2 separate regions of the Homo sapiens genome follow, and region 1 is linked to region 2. The links are contacts of gene promoters, found by promoter capture Hi-C in human tissues and cell types (Jung and others, 2019). All regions are on one chromosome and are shown on one strand. Each heading gives the region's core, a stretch centred on a gene start or on the middle of the fragment in contact. The rest is flanking DNA. Distances are from core to core; before and after follow the strand shown.

Region 1 (6,288 bases), core at 3,045-5,544, 42 kb before region 2:
CGGGTACAGTGGCAGCTGCCTGTAATCCCAGCTGCTTGGGAGGCTGAGGCAGGAGAATCGCTTGAACCCAGGGGACGGAGGTTGCAGTGAGCCGAGATCGCACCACTGCACTCCAGCCTGGGCAACAGAGTGAGACTTCGTCTTAAAAAAAAAAAAAAACTTTATTCTACAGACAAACATAGGAAGCCCCATTGAAACCCCAACACTGTGCCACGTCTGTGTCAGATCTCCAGGGAAAACATTTCTCACAGTTGAGCCAGCCCTGTGGCGGTGAGCACTCTGTCTTCTAAAGCAAGAGCAGACAAACGCTGGGCAACCACTGTGGGGGAAGGTGCCACAGAGGGCATTTAGCTTGGCGTCAGACAGGAAGCCTGGGGGGTCCCAGGTAGCCCGAGTTTGAGGGGGTGGGAAGGAAGCAGTGGGAAGTCCCTGGGTTACATCTTCCTCCTTGAAGTCTTTAGCTTTTCCCTCTCCTCCTGGTCCCTTGCCTAGGTCAACAAAAATGTCTCATCTCCCCCTGCCCTAACTGGACTCCCATTTCTCTGCCTCTTGCCCACCCCTGCACACCCTAAGCCATTATTCATTTTATTTCCCAGGCTCTTCAAAGAGCTCTCTACCCTCGCTGCTCACACGTCCCCGTCCTGATCGTTTTTCCCTGCCCTTGCACTGCAACCTCACCAAATCTGTCCTTCCCAATGTAACTTCGTGCTGTTTCCCCTTCCCAATCCAATGGCTTCTTCTCGACCCCCAATTTCTCTGACCTTTCCGTAGCATTTGGCTCTGGGGACAATTCCCTCCTCATCAAAACTTTTTCCTCTGTTGTTCTCCGTAAGCCTGAACTCTCTCTCCCCCTCCCCCCACACCCGGCAAATGTCAGTGGTCCCCAGAATTCTTTCCTCCGCCTTAGCTTCTCACTTTGCACACTGCCCCGGCGCTCACATGGCAACCGCTGCCTGACTGCGGATGTCTCTCTCGCCCAGGCCTCCGTCCTGAGCACCAACCTCTCACAGGCTGGGAATCTTGTTCTGGATTAATTAGTTTCATTTTTGTTGTTGTTGTTGTTTTGAGATGGAGTCTCGCACAGTTGCTTGGGCTGGCGTGCAATGGCGTGATCTCGCTCGCTGCAACCTCCGCCTCCCGGATTCATGCGATTCTCCTGCCTCAGCCTCCTGAGTAGCTGGGATTACAGGTGCACACCACCATATCAGGCTAATTTTTTGTATTTTTAGTAGAGACAGGGTTTCACCATATTGGCCAGACTGGTCTCGAACTTCTGACCTCGTGATCCGCCCACCTTGGCCTCCCAAAGTGCTGGGATTACAGGTATGAGCCACCACGCCTGGTCAACCTTTTCTATTTCTCTATAGCGCCTACTAAAATGGGACTTGATATTATTTATTCATTGCTTAATTGTTTATGATCTATGTTCCCCACGGGAGAGCAAGGACTTTGACTTGTTTACTCCTATATCCCCAAACCTAGAACAGCGTCTGGCACAGAGCCAGCATGCAGTAAGTGTTGGTGGAAGGAATAAATGAAGGAATGAAGGAATGGTCGGGATGAATTTCTTGCCTGTGGTTCACTGATGAGAAGCTGGGGAAGGCTGAAGCAAACTCACACGTGCCCCTGACCTCGGTTGCTCCTTCTGTCAGATAAACTCCTGTTTGTCCTCAAATTCCTGCTCCATTTCCACCTCCCCAAGGAGACTTGCCTAGTCCTTGACTCTGAGCCCACTTCCTGGGTGTTCTCGCTCCCCACCGCTGCTGCCTGTTTTTACAGCATCCATGTGGTCACTCCGTGAATGATTCTTTGTTGTTTCCTCCTGTCTCTCCCGTGAGATTGAAAGCACATCAAGGGCAGGCCTGTCACAAAGCCTCTTTGTGTTCTGTAGCTATGCGTGGAGCGAATGAACAAGGTTGGGCTTGTCTGGACCTGGGCACGGTCACTGAATGTTCTTGGCCTCTGTAAGGAAGGGCATCCCCTTGGCAGTTAGCAGGGCAGGCACAAGGGGCATAGCATCCCCAGAACATGATGAAGGGCACCTTTGAAAAGCTAGAGAGGCTTTGGATAGAGCTGGAATTGTCTGGTGACATGTGCTCATTCATACTACATGGTCATTATACTACGTGGTCTTAGAATATGTCAAATTCTCACCTTTTCATCCACCCACAATTCACTGAGTTCCCGTTCAGTGCCAGCTTCTGTGATGGGTAATAGTGGTGGGAAACATGCAGAACTGGATGATCAAGTTTAGAATGAGATCGTGCCTACTGTCGGAGCAGTCCAGGAGGGGTGACCCCAGGATCCCTTCTTCCTTTGCCTTCCATCTATTCTAAATTGTCTTCAGCTGGTGATGCACCAGCTGGGCATCCAGACGTCAGCTGGCTTAAACAGACCGCTGTGCTTGCAACAAGCAAGACACTTCAGAACTTGCAGAATCACTGCATCCCTTTCTTAAACCAAGACCCAACCCCACCATCTCTTTCTTTTCCTTTCTGGTTTGGCCTCTGTAGGTGTGACATCAGAGACACACCTCAGCGGATGTGACTCAGTGAGCACCATTCAGACTCCCCAGGGCCACTCCCATGAGCTGGCCAGGTGGGCAGGCTTTGCTGAGCCTGTCTCCCCACCGGTCTGAGGTCTGCAGATTAGGCTTCCAGACAGGGAGCGGCAGGGCAGGCCCCTCAGTGGGAAGACAGGAGTGTCTGTATGGCCAGCCGGGAATCAAGAACCATTCACCCTCCACCAGCAAGGGTGGGGCTGCCCTGAGCTTTCAGGCAGCTGTTTTATGGAATTATTAATTTTAATGTACAGATGGTTTTATTTTCTGCTCATTTTCACATATTCTAAGAACCCTTAAATGTTATACTATATAGTCTTTTTTTTTTTTTTTTTTTTTGAGACAGAGTCTTTGTCACCCAGGCTGGAGTGCAGTGACGCAATCTCAGCTCACTGCAACCTCCACCTCCCGGGTTCAAGCAATTCTCCTGCCTCAGCCTCCTGAGTAGCTGGGATTACAGGTGCCTGCCACCACATCTGGCTAATTTTTGTATTTTTAGTAGAGACGGGGTTTTGCCATGTTGGCCAGGTTGGTCTCGAACCCTTGACTTCAGGTGATCCACCCACCTCGGCCTCCCAAAGTGCCAGGATTACAGGCTCAAGCCACCGCGCCCAGCCTATAGTCTTAATATTCCCTATTTTAAAAAATATTCATGGCGGCCATACTAGAGCCCCCGGGATATAGCGGAGAGCACTGCCCTCATGGTCTTTAGATACACGTCTTTCATGGTTCTGTTGAATGACTTCCTTACAACACATTCCCAGGAGCAGAATTACCACATTAAAAGGTATGAACATTTTTATAGCTCTGGAAGCGTATTGCCCAATTTCTCCCCTAAAAAGGTGGTGTTAATTTACACTGCCACTGGCAGTGTGTGTAAGCTGGTTTCAGCACAGCTTCAACAGCATGAGACATTATAATTTTGTTAATGTTTGCTAATTTCATAGGTGTGAAATGAATGGCACATCAGGGGGACTTTAATTTGCGTTCCCTGGTGATCGTGAGGGTGAGCCTGTTTGGAGGTGCTGATGTGCACAGTCTGCCTAGTGGGGGCCTCTCCGCCCTGTCTCAGGCACTGTCTGTTTCTCAGCCTGTGTCTCCCCACACCTCTGCCTGCCTCCCGCCGACTGCTGTTCTTACTGTCCCTCTAAGCCTGTCTGTCTCAGTGTCTTAGCCTCTGATTCCTCTGAGTTTCTCTGGTTCCTAACTGGCCAGGTGTGGAGCTGGTTCATGGAGGTCCTAGCCAAGCCCTGACAAGCTGCAGTCTAGAGGCGGGGCGCAGGGTTCTGGGCACAGGGCTCCAGGCTCCTGCCTCCAAGGGCTCCCTCCCCGGGGAGCTCCCTTTGTGAACTCACATGGTGCCCTGCCCTTCCTTCCACCAGGGCCTCACCAAAGGCCCCTTTCATTTCTCCAGGTAGCCTCAGCTGGGCTGACCTGCTCGATTGGATCCAGTGATTCTGAGATCCCAGAAGTAGCTGGGAGTGAGCAGGCTGTCCCTCAGTGACTCCCTCTTAGGAAGTGTTCCAGAAGCCCCACCCTCAGGACAACTCACCAGACAGTGTTGTGTGTCCTGGCCGTTGGGGGTGTGTGGTCTGAAAGAGCCAGAAAGTGGTGTCCCCAAAGTCCAGATGTGTGGACAGTAGACAGGTCCACAGAGGTGACAATGGCGCCGCCTGCCTACCTTCTCCAACGAGCCCCTTACCTGAAGTGGCAGAAAGAGCTCACCTCTCAGGCCAAACCCCACTTGGCACCAGGTGGACGGGGGGCCACCGAGGCCCCATGGTTTAGCAGGGTCAGAGTGGGGCTGTCACCCTGCCCACTTTCAATGGCGTGGAAGAGTCTTCAACACTTGGGAAAGTTTCAGAAAGACTCTAGAGAGGCAGCTGGCTTCAAGGGAAGGCTGTGTGGATGTACTTGGCGAATCCTCATGATCAGTGAGTTGCTGACTCCGGGCTCTGGACCTGCCCTGTGGCTGCTTGTCTTTGAGGCAGGTCTTGAGGGCTCTCTGCAGTCACCTCTCAGGCCCTGTGGGTGGTCCCAGCCTATTAGAATCGTAGATTGATACCAGCCAGAAGGGAACTCTGACATCAAGTTCTCTCTCTTTTTTTTTTTTTTTTTTTTTTTTGAGACGGAGTCTCTCTGTGTCGCCCAGGCTGGAGTGCAGTGGCGTGATCTCGGCTCACTGCAACCTCCACCTTCCGGGTTCCAGCGATTCTTCTGCCTCAGCTGCCCGAGTAGCTGGGACTACAGGCGTGCACCACCATGCCCGGCTAATTTTTGTATGTTTTAGTGGAGATGGGATTTCACCATGTTGGCCAGGCTGATCTCAAACTCCTGACCTCATGATCCACCTGCCTCGGCCTCCTAAAGTGCTGGGATTACAGGCATGAGCCACCACGCCCGGCCCTACCCTCTCATTTTATTTAACATTTTAACGTTAAGCTTTTAAAAAATTATACAAATAATGCATGCCTGTTTCTAGGATATTTGGAAAATACAGAAAACTATAAAGGAGAAAATATTAATCCTTCTATCCGTTCATCAAAGATAACTGCTATTCTATTTCAATATCAACCTTTTCTGTGCTCGCATATTTTTATTATCACTACGACCATACATTATACGTGATTTATTTACCTCCGATTATATGCATTTTCAATATAACGAAATATTCTTTAAAAACACTGTTAATGACTGCATAATAGTCTTTTGAGCTGACACACCTTAACTAATATTACCTAAATGTCAGGCATGTATGTTTTCAGTTTTTCAAGGATATAAAAATATACCAAAGTAAACATCTTGGGACAGGCGTCATGGCTTACACCTGTAATCCCAGCATTTTGGGAGGCCAAGGTGGGCAGATCACTTGAGGTCAGGAGTTTCAGATCAGCCTGGCCAACACGGTGAAACCCCGTCTCTACTGAAAATACAAAAATTAGCTGGGCATGGTGGCAGGTGCCTGTAATCCCAGCAACTCAGGAGGCTGAGGCAGGAGAATTGCTTGAACTGGGAGGGGTGGAGGGGTTGCAGTGGGCTGAGATCACGCCACTGCACACCACAGCCTGGGGGACAGAGTGAGACTCCATCTCAAAAAAAAAAAATACTGGGTGTGGTGGCTGACGCCTGTAGTCCCAGCTACCTGGGGACTGGAGTGGGGGAGGCTGAGGTGGGAGGATCACTTGAGCCCAGGAGGCAGAGGTTGCAGTGAGCCAAGATCGCCCCACTGCACTCCAGCTTGGGAGACAGAGTGAGACTCCGTCTCAAAAACAAAACAAAAAATACTAAAGTAAGCATCTTTATGCATAAATTTTTGTCCACAATTTCATTTTTCCCTTAGCTTAGATTCCTACTCATAGGGTATAGGCATGTTTTAAGATTTCGCATGTGTATTTTTATTTTACTTTTGAGAAAGGTTGAACTAACACATGCCCATCTCGCCACACACCATCAACTACACCAAGAAATATCATTCAAAGAAACATCGACTAACTCGAAAGACAGTATTTCTGTTGCCTCCTTTCAGTGATCGGTCAGCTAAGTCTTGGAGAGGAAAAGGGACATGACGAGGGTGGTTCTAGGAGTGTGTTATTTCATTCTGTCTTCACAGCAACCCCATATAAATAGCAAGAAGTGGAGGAGCTAAAGCACGCAGATTAAGGTTAAGGAACTTGCCTGGCCGGGCACAGTGGCTCACGCCTGTAATCCCAGCACTTTGGGAGGCCGAG
Region 2 (5,465 bases), core at 689-3,188:
ACACACACACATACACACACATACACACACACTGAGTTAGGGTTTCCAGTTCAGGGTGTGTGTGTGTGTGTGTGTGTATGTGTATGTGTGTGTTTGTGTTTTTTGTGTGTTTTGTGTGTGTGTTTGTGTGTGTGTTTGTGTGTCTGTGTTTGTGTGTTTGGGTGTGTGTTTGTGCGTGTGTTTTTGTGTGTGTTTGTGTTTGTGCGTGTGTTTTGTGTGTGTCTGTGTGTTTGTGTGTGTGTCTGTGTGTGTTTGTGAGTGTGTGTGTGTGAGAGAGAGAGTGTGTATGTGTGTGTGTGTGAGTGGGGTCTCCTGTGGCAGGAAGGTCAGCCAAGCTACTATAATCATTCCAGGGAACATCACTCCCTACCAGCAGAGCTGAAATCGCAGCTCTCCTGCCTGGCTACTTCCCCTGGACAATAACAACCCCAGACTTCTTGCTACAGAGGAAGTGTGGCTGCCCACAGTTGGTGTGGCAACTGCACAGCCTCCACAGTTGGATCTGCTGTCCTTGACCCATCCAGGGCCTGTGCTAGGCCCACCCAAGGGCTCCTCCCAGTCTCCCCCTCCCCCATCCTAGGAACTAACGTTAATCCCTTTTGATTCCCAAAGCCTTAAAGTGTCAGAACCAAACCACCTAGCCCCATTGTACAGATGAGAACACCAAGGCCCAGAGAGCACAGGCACTTGGCTAAAGTCACACAGATGACAGAATGGTGGAAGTCCAGTTCTCTTGCAGGTTGGCTTCCTGACACCCCAGTGCACTCCCTTCCTCTAGAGCTCCCCCCCAGAGCATCCCCTGAAGAGCTCCTCTGTTTCCCAAACCTGCCTGGGGAGGGGAGGTGGGGAGCTGGAGGTTTCCTGTCTGGGCTGAGAGTGAAAGGGCTGAAAGAAGGAACGAGGAAGGAGCAGCCAGCAGCCACAAAAGGCTTCAAAGGGCTTGGGCCTCCGCCAAACTGGCTGTGCACAGCCCAGTGGAGCCTGCGCCCACCCTGCGGCCAAGGCCATTCATTCTCTCTCTCCCTCACAGAAGCATTAGGAGACTAGGGCCTGGGAGGAAGCTTCCCTGCAACTCCAGGTCCTGCCACCCAAGGCGCGAGCTCTGGGAATGTGTCCCGCCTCCTGCTACAGCCCCAGCAGGCAGGAGGCAAAGCAGGCCAACCCCAACCTGCCTGCAGCCTGGAGCAGGATTATGAATCAGATGTGGCTCTCCAGGTTGGAAGGAATGTGGATCATAGATAGAGACACTAAGGCCCAAGGAAGGGCCAGAGAGTGGCAAAGACAGCGCAGGATCCACGTGGGTGATGATTTTTTTCCTGTAGGTCCCTCCTGACGGCAGAAGCCACCTACAGCTTGAAGTCTTCTTTGGCGAAGGGAAAAGACAGGAGAGAGAGAGGGAAAGGCAAGCTCCCAGGTTCCCTGTTGGCGCAGGTGGCATTTTGGGGGGAAACAGGGTTATGCACTGTGGGAGATTCGATTCGGAGCCAGGGGCTGAGCCTAAGGCTGGGATCTGTGTGGCTGAGATCTGTGCTCACTTCGAGGTTTCCGTGCTTGCCTGGACGGCTCTTGCGCCCTGGGATCTGTAAACCCCAAGGGTGGTGCGCCCTGGGGTCGCCATGCCCCTCAGATTCTTTACAGGGCACCTCCCATCCGGCACCTGGAGCTCCTGAGTGCGCGCGCCCCGGGAGAGCTGTGCTCCCCGCGAAATCCGTGCGCTCCAGCTCAGGGCTCCCGGGATCGGTGCCCGTTAGTGGGCACAGGACGCCGGGTGTCCGAAGGGCTGCCTGGAGATGCAACTGACCTTGGCGGGCATCAGAATGACGAGTGGCAGCAGCAGGAGCGGGGTGACGAACAAGATCACGAAGGACTTGAACTTGGAGACATAGCTCAGCGCCGAGGCCATCGCGCGGGAGGGAGACTGGCGGGCGAGACGAGTGAGGGGCAGCTAGAGGCGCCGCGGGCTTAAGAAGGGGCCACAGTCCCCGGGGATTGGGGAGGGGGCGGTGACAACTCCGCCCCGCACGGGGGCGCCTCCCCGCGGCCCTGGGGCGGGGCCACCCCTCGGGGTCTGTGGGACGCGCCTGCCCCCAATTCTGCCACCCGGCGGCGGTGGGAGGCGTCTTTGGACTCCAACGCTTCGGGCCAGCCCTCTAGGGGCAGCCTGGGCCCTAGCATCTCGCGCTGTCCAAGCCTCTCCTGCGCTGCCGAGGCAGAGGTGCGTCCCGGGGCTGCCAAGCGGGGCGTGTTTTGGTCACTGGTGCTGCCCGCTTTGGCGTAAGGCGCCCTCCCGCGTCCGCATCTGCTCTTTCCTGGGCTCTGAAGGGTCCCGGATGAAACTCTCTGCAGGCCTCTGGGTCTCTCAGGTCTATCTCCCCGATCTCCCTCTCCTTTCCATCTCCTTACTTCCGCCCCTCCGGTGTCTCTCCGAGAGGTGTCCCCCCACGCCCCGCGCCCTCCGCACCGCGGGCCTCGCTTCCCGGTCCCCCCTGGCTTCCTCGCCACGTCCGCCCCACTCTAGGTGCAGGACCCCTTTTCCCCGCTCGCACTCTCCGGCCCGGAGCTCCTGGGCGATCGCACAGGGAAGCGAGGCCACTGTCCTCCTCTGTCCCAGGGGCTGTCGCGCTCCAGTGGACGCTGCACCCCGCAGACGCCCGGCGGGCAGATGCGGACACGCGTCTTGGAGGGGCCCCACCGAGCCTCAGCAGCCGCAGCTGCCCGCCCGACCCAGGTCAGAGGGAAACGGAGCTCTAGAGAGGAAGGGACACAACTAAGGCGACACTGAGACAGTCGCCCATGTATTCATTCAGCCCGCCAGGCAACAGACAGGTGCCGAGCACCTCTTCTCCGCGAGGCCCTGTTTTGGGCACTGGAGACACACGGATGCAAAGACATCCCCACCTCTGTGATTTTCTTCTTTCCTCTCCTCTGCCTGCCTCTCATTCTGCAGCTTCCTTTTGGGGAGTCTCATCCATGCTGGTGGCCTAACCACAGCCGGCTCCTTAGTGATTACCATCCTCTGCCTTCAACCCAGCCATGATGCCAGAGTCCCAGATGTCCAGCCTTCCGCAGACTGGACGTGTCTCGGCCCGAAAATTCAACACATCCTGAATCAAGCTCATGAGTTCCTTCCTGTGACCTGCACCCAAGGACATGCATTCTCCCAAGCCCCTCCTGCAATTGCCTCCCTCCTGTCCTTTTCCCTTTGTAACTCTCATGCATATAGCCCTGGGTTTTCCCGCCTTTCCTGTGTCCCCAGGGCACTTAGCACAATTTGTACCTCTTATATTTATTGGTGTAATTTTTACTTTTTACTTTTTTATTTTTTAAGTGTTATTTCATTTTTAATTGACAAATCATTGTCTATATTTACGGGGTACCATGTGATTTTTCAATGTGTGTATAATTGTGGTGTGTTCAAATCAGGCTAATGAGCATATTTATCACTCGAATATTTATCATTTCTCTTGTTTTTGTTTTTTGTTTGTTTGTTTGAGACAGAGTTGTGCTCCTGTCACCCAGGCTGGAGTGCAGTGGCACGATCTCGGCTCACTGCAACCTCTGCCACCTAGGTTCAAGCAAATCTCCTGCTTCAGCCTCCCAAGTAGCTGGGATTACAGGTGTGCACCACCACGCCCGGCTAATTTTTTGCATTTTTAGTAGAAATGGGGTTTCACCATGTTAGCCAGGCTGGTCTCGAACTCCTGACCTCAGGTGATCCGCCCACCTCGGTCTCCCAAAGTGCTGGGATTACAGGCGTGAGCCACCGCGTCTGGCCCAAATATTTGTCATTTCTTTGTGGTGAGAACATTTAAAATATCTTGTAGCTATTTTAAAATATATGACACATTATTATGATGTAATTTCTATTTACTGTCTGTTTTATTCATCACCACCTGTCCAGCTAGTGCCTTTCTCAGTGCCTAATCCAGGATGTGCACTCAAACCTTTTTCTCCGGGATGCATGAATGAGAGCAAGTAAACAACTTCAGTTCTTTTTTCTTTTCTTTTTTTTTAATTTTACTTTAAGTTCTGGGATACATGTGCAGAATGTGCAGGTTTGTTACATAGGTATACATGTGCCATGGTGGTTTGCTGCAGCTATCAACCGGACATTTAGGTTTTAAGACCCACATGCATTAGGTATTTGTCCTAATGCTCTCCCTCCCCTTGCCCTCCAACCCCCTGACAGGCCCCCGTGTGTGATGTTCCCCTCCCTGTGTCAATGCGTTCTCACTGTTCAACTCCCACTTATGACTGAGAACATGTGGTGTTTGGTTTTCTGTTCCTGTGTTAGTTTGCTGAGAATGATGGCTTCCAGCTTCATCCATGTCCCTGCAAAGGACATGACCTCATTATTTTTAATGGCTGCATAGTATTCCATGGTATGTATGTGCCACATTTTCTTTATCCAGTCTATCATTGATGGACATTTGGGTTGGTTTTAAGTCTTTGCTATTGTAAATAGTGTGCATGTGTCTTTATAGCAGCATGATTTATAATCCTTTGGGTATATACCCAGTAATAAAATTGCTGGGTCAAATGATATTTCTGGTTCTAGATCCTTGAGGAATCGCCACAGTGTCTTCCACAATGGTTGAACTAATTTACACTCCCACCAACAATGTAAAAGTACAACTTCTGTTCTTAATACAACTGCTTCCAAAGGGATTCACCAGAGCATGGACTCTGAGGCTAGAGTTCCTGGGCTTATATCTTGCCCTAGCTCATCCTGGCTGTGTGCCTCAGACAAGTTGCTCTCTATGAGCTTATCCTGTCATAAATGGAGATAATAGCACCAACTTTGATTTTAAATGGCTGTTTTGGAGATTATATGAGTTCATGGTCAGAGCTTAACTCAGTGCGTTGGCATATAGTCAGCTGTTAGTAAATATCCATTCTTGCAATTGTATGCAAAATACCCTGGTTGGTGAGGCCTTAAGAGAAGGATCCACCAACTCTGCCTAAGTAATGAAGGAAGGTTTCACAGAGGAGGTGGCAGAGCTTGCAGTGAGCCATGATCGCACCACTGCACTCCAGCCTGGGTGACAGAGCCAGACTCCGTCCCCCTGCAAAAAAAAAAAAAAAAAAAAAAACTTAATGGCTAAGTAATAATTTGCCAGGCAGCAGTGGAGGATAGTCAAAGTTAGCACCAAATGAAAAAGAATATTAAGATTGTTAAGAAAAATTCCAAGGCCAAAGTGCTACAACAACAACAAGCTAAATAAATGGAGAGATTATACCAAGTTCACGGATAGGGAGACCACACATTGTAGGACTATCCATTTCTCTCAAATTAACCTATAAATTCAATTCAATTCCAATTAAAATCCCAACAGGATTTTTAGTTAACAAGCCTAAAATTCAGGTAGAATAGCAGGTAAGCCAAGAATAATTACGACACTTCTGGAAAAACACGGGGGAAATTGCCATTTAGACTTCAAGAATGACTAACTTGTAATAGTTGA

Evidence for each region. The method cuts DNA at HindIII sites, captures the fragments that hold promoters and counts their contacts. A contact is called where the count stands out against the background at its distance.
Region 1: a fragment that was not itself captured here is called in contact with the fragment with the promoter of SLC13A5 in region 2 in 1 of the 25 tissues and cell types used here (ovary).

Annotation. Positions count from the first base shown.
Region 1 is chr17:6,667,412-6,673,699 of GRCh38, forward strand. No RefSeq gene overlaps it. Among named protein-coding and RNA genes, the nearest start is that of MIR4520-1, 15 kb to the left of the region's middle. RefSeq lists a silencer at 2,780-2,934. The HindIII fragment of the contact is 4,115 bases long and covers 2,238-6,288 here.
Region 2 is chr17:6,711,431-6,716,895 of GRCh38, forward strand. It overlaps SLC13A5 (solute carrier family 13 member 5), which reads right to left and starts at 1,939. Exons shown (of 12, transcript NM_177550.5): 1 at 1,802-1,939. The coding sequence starts at 1,903. The HindIII fragment of the contact is 16,548 bases long and covers 1-5,465 here.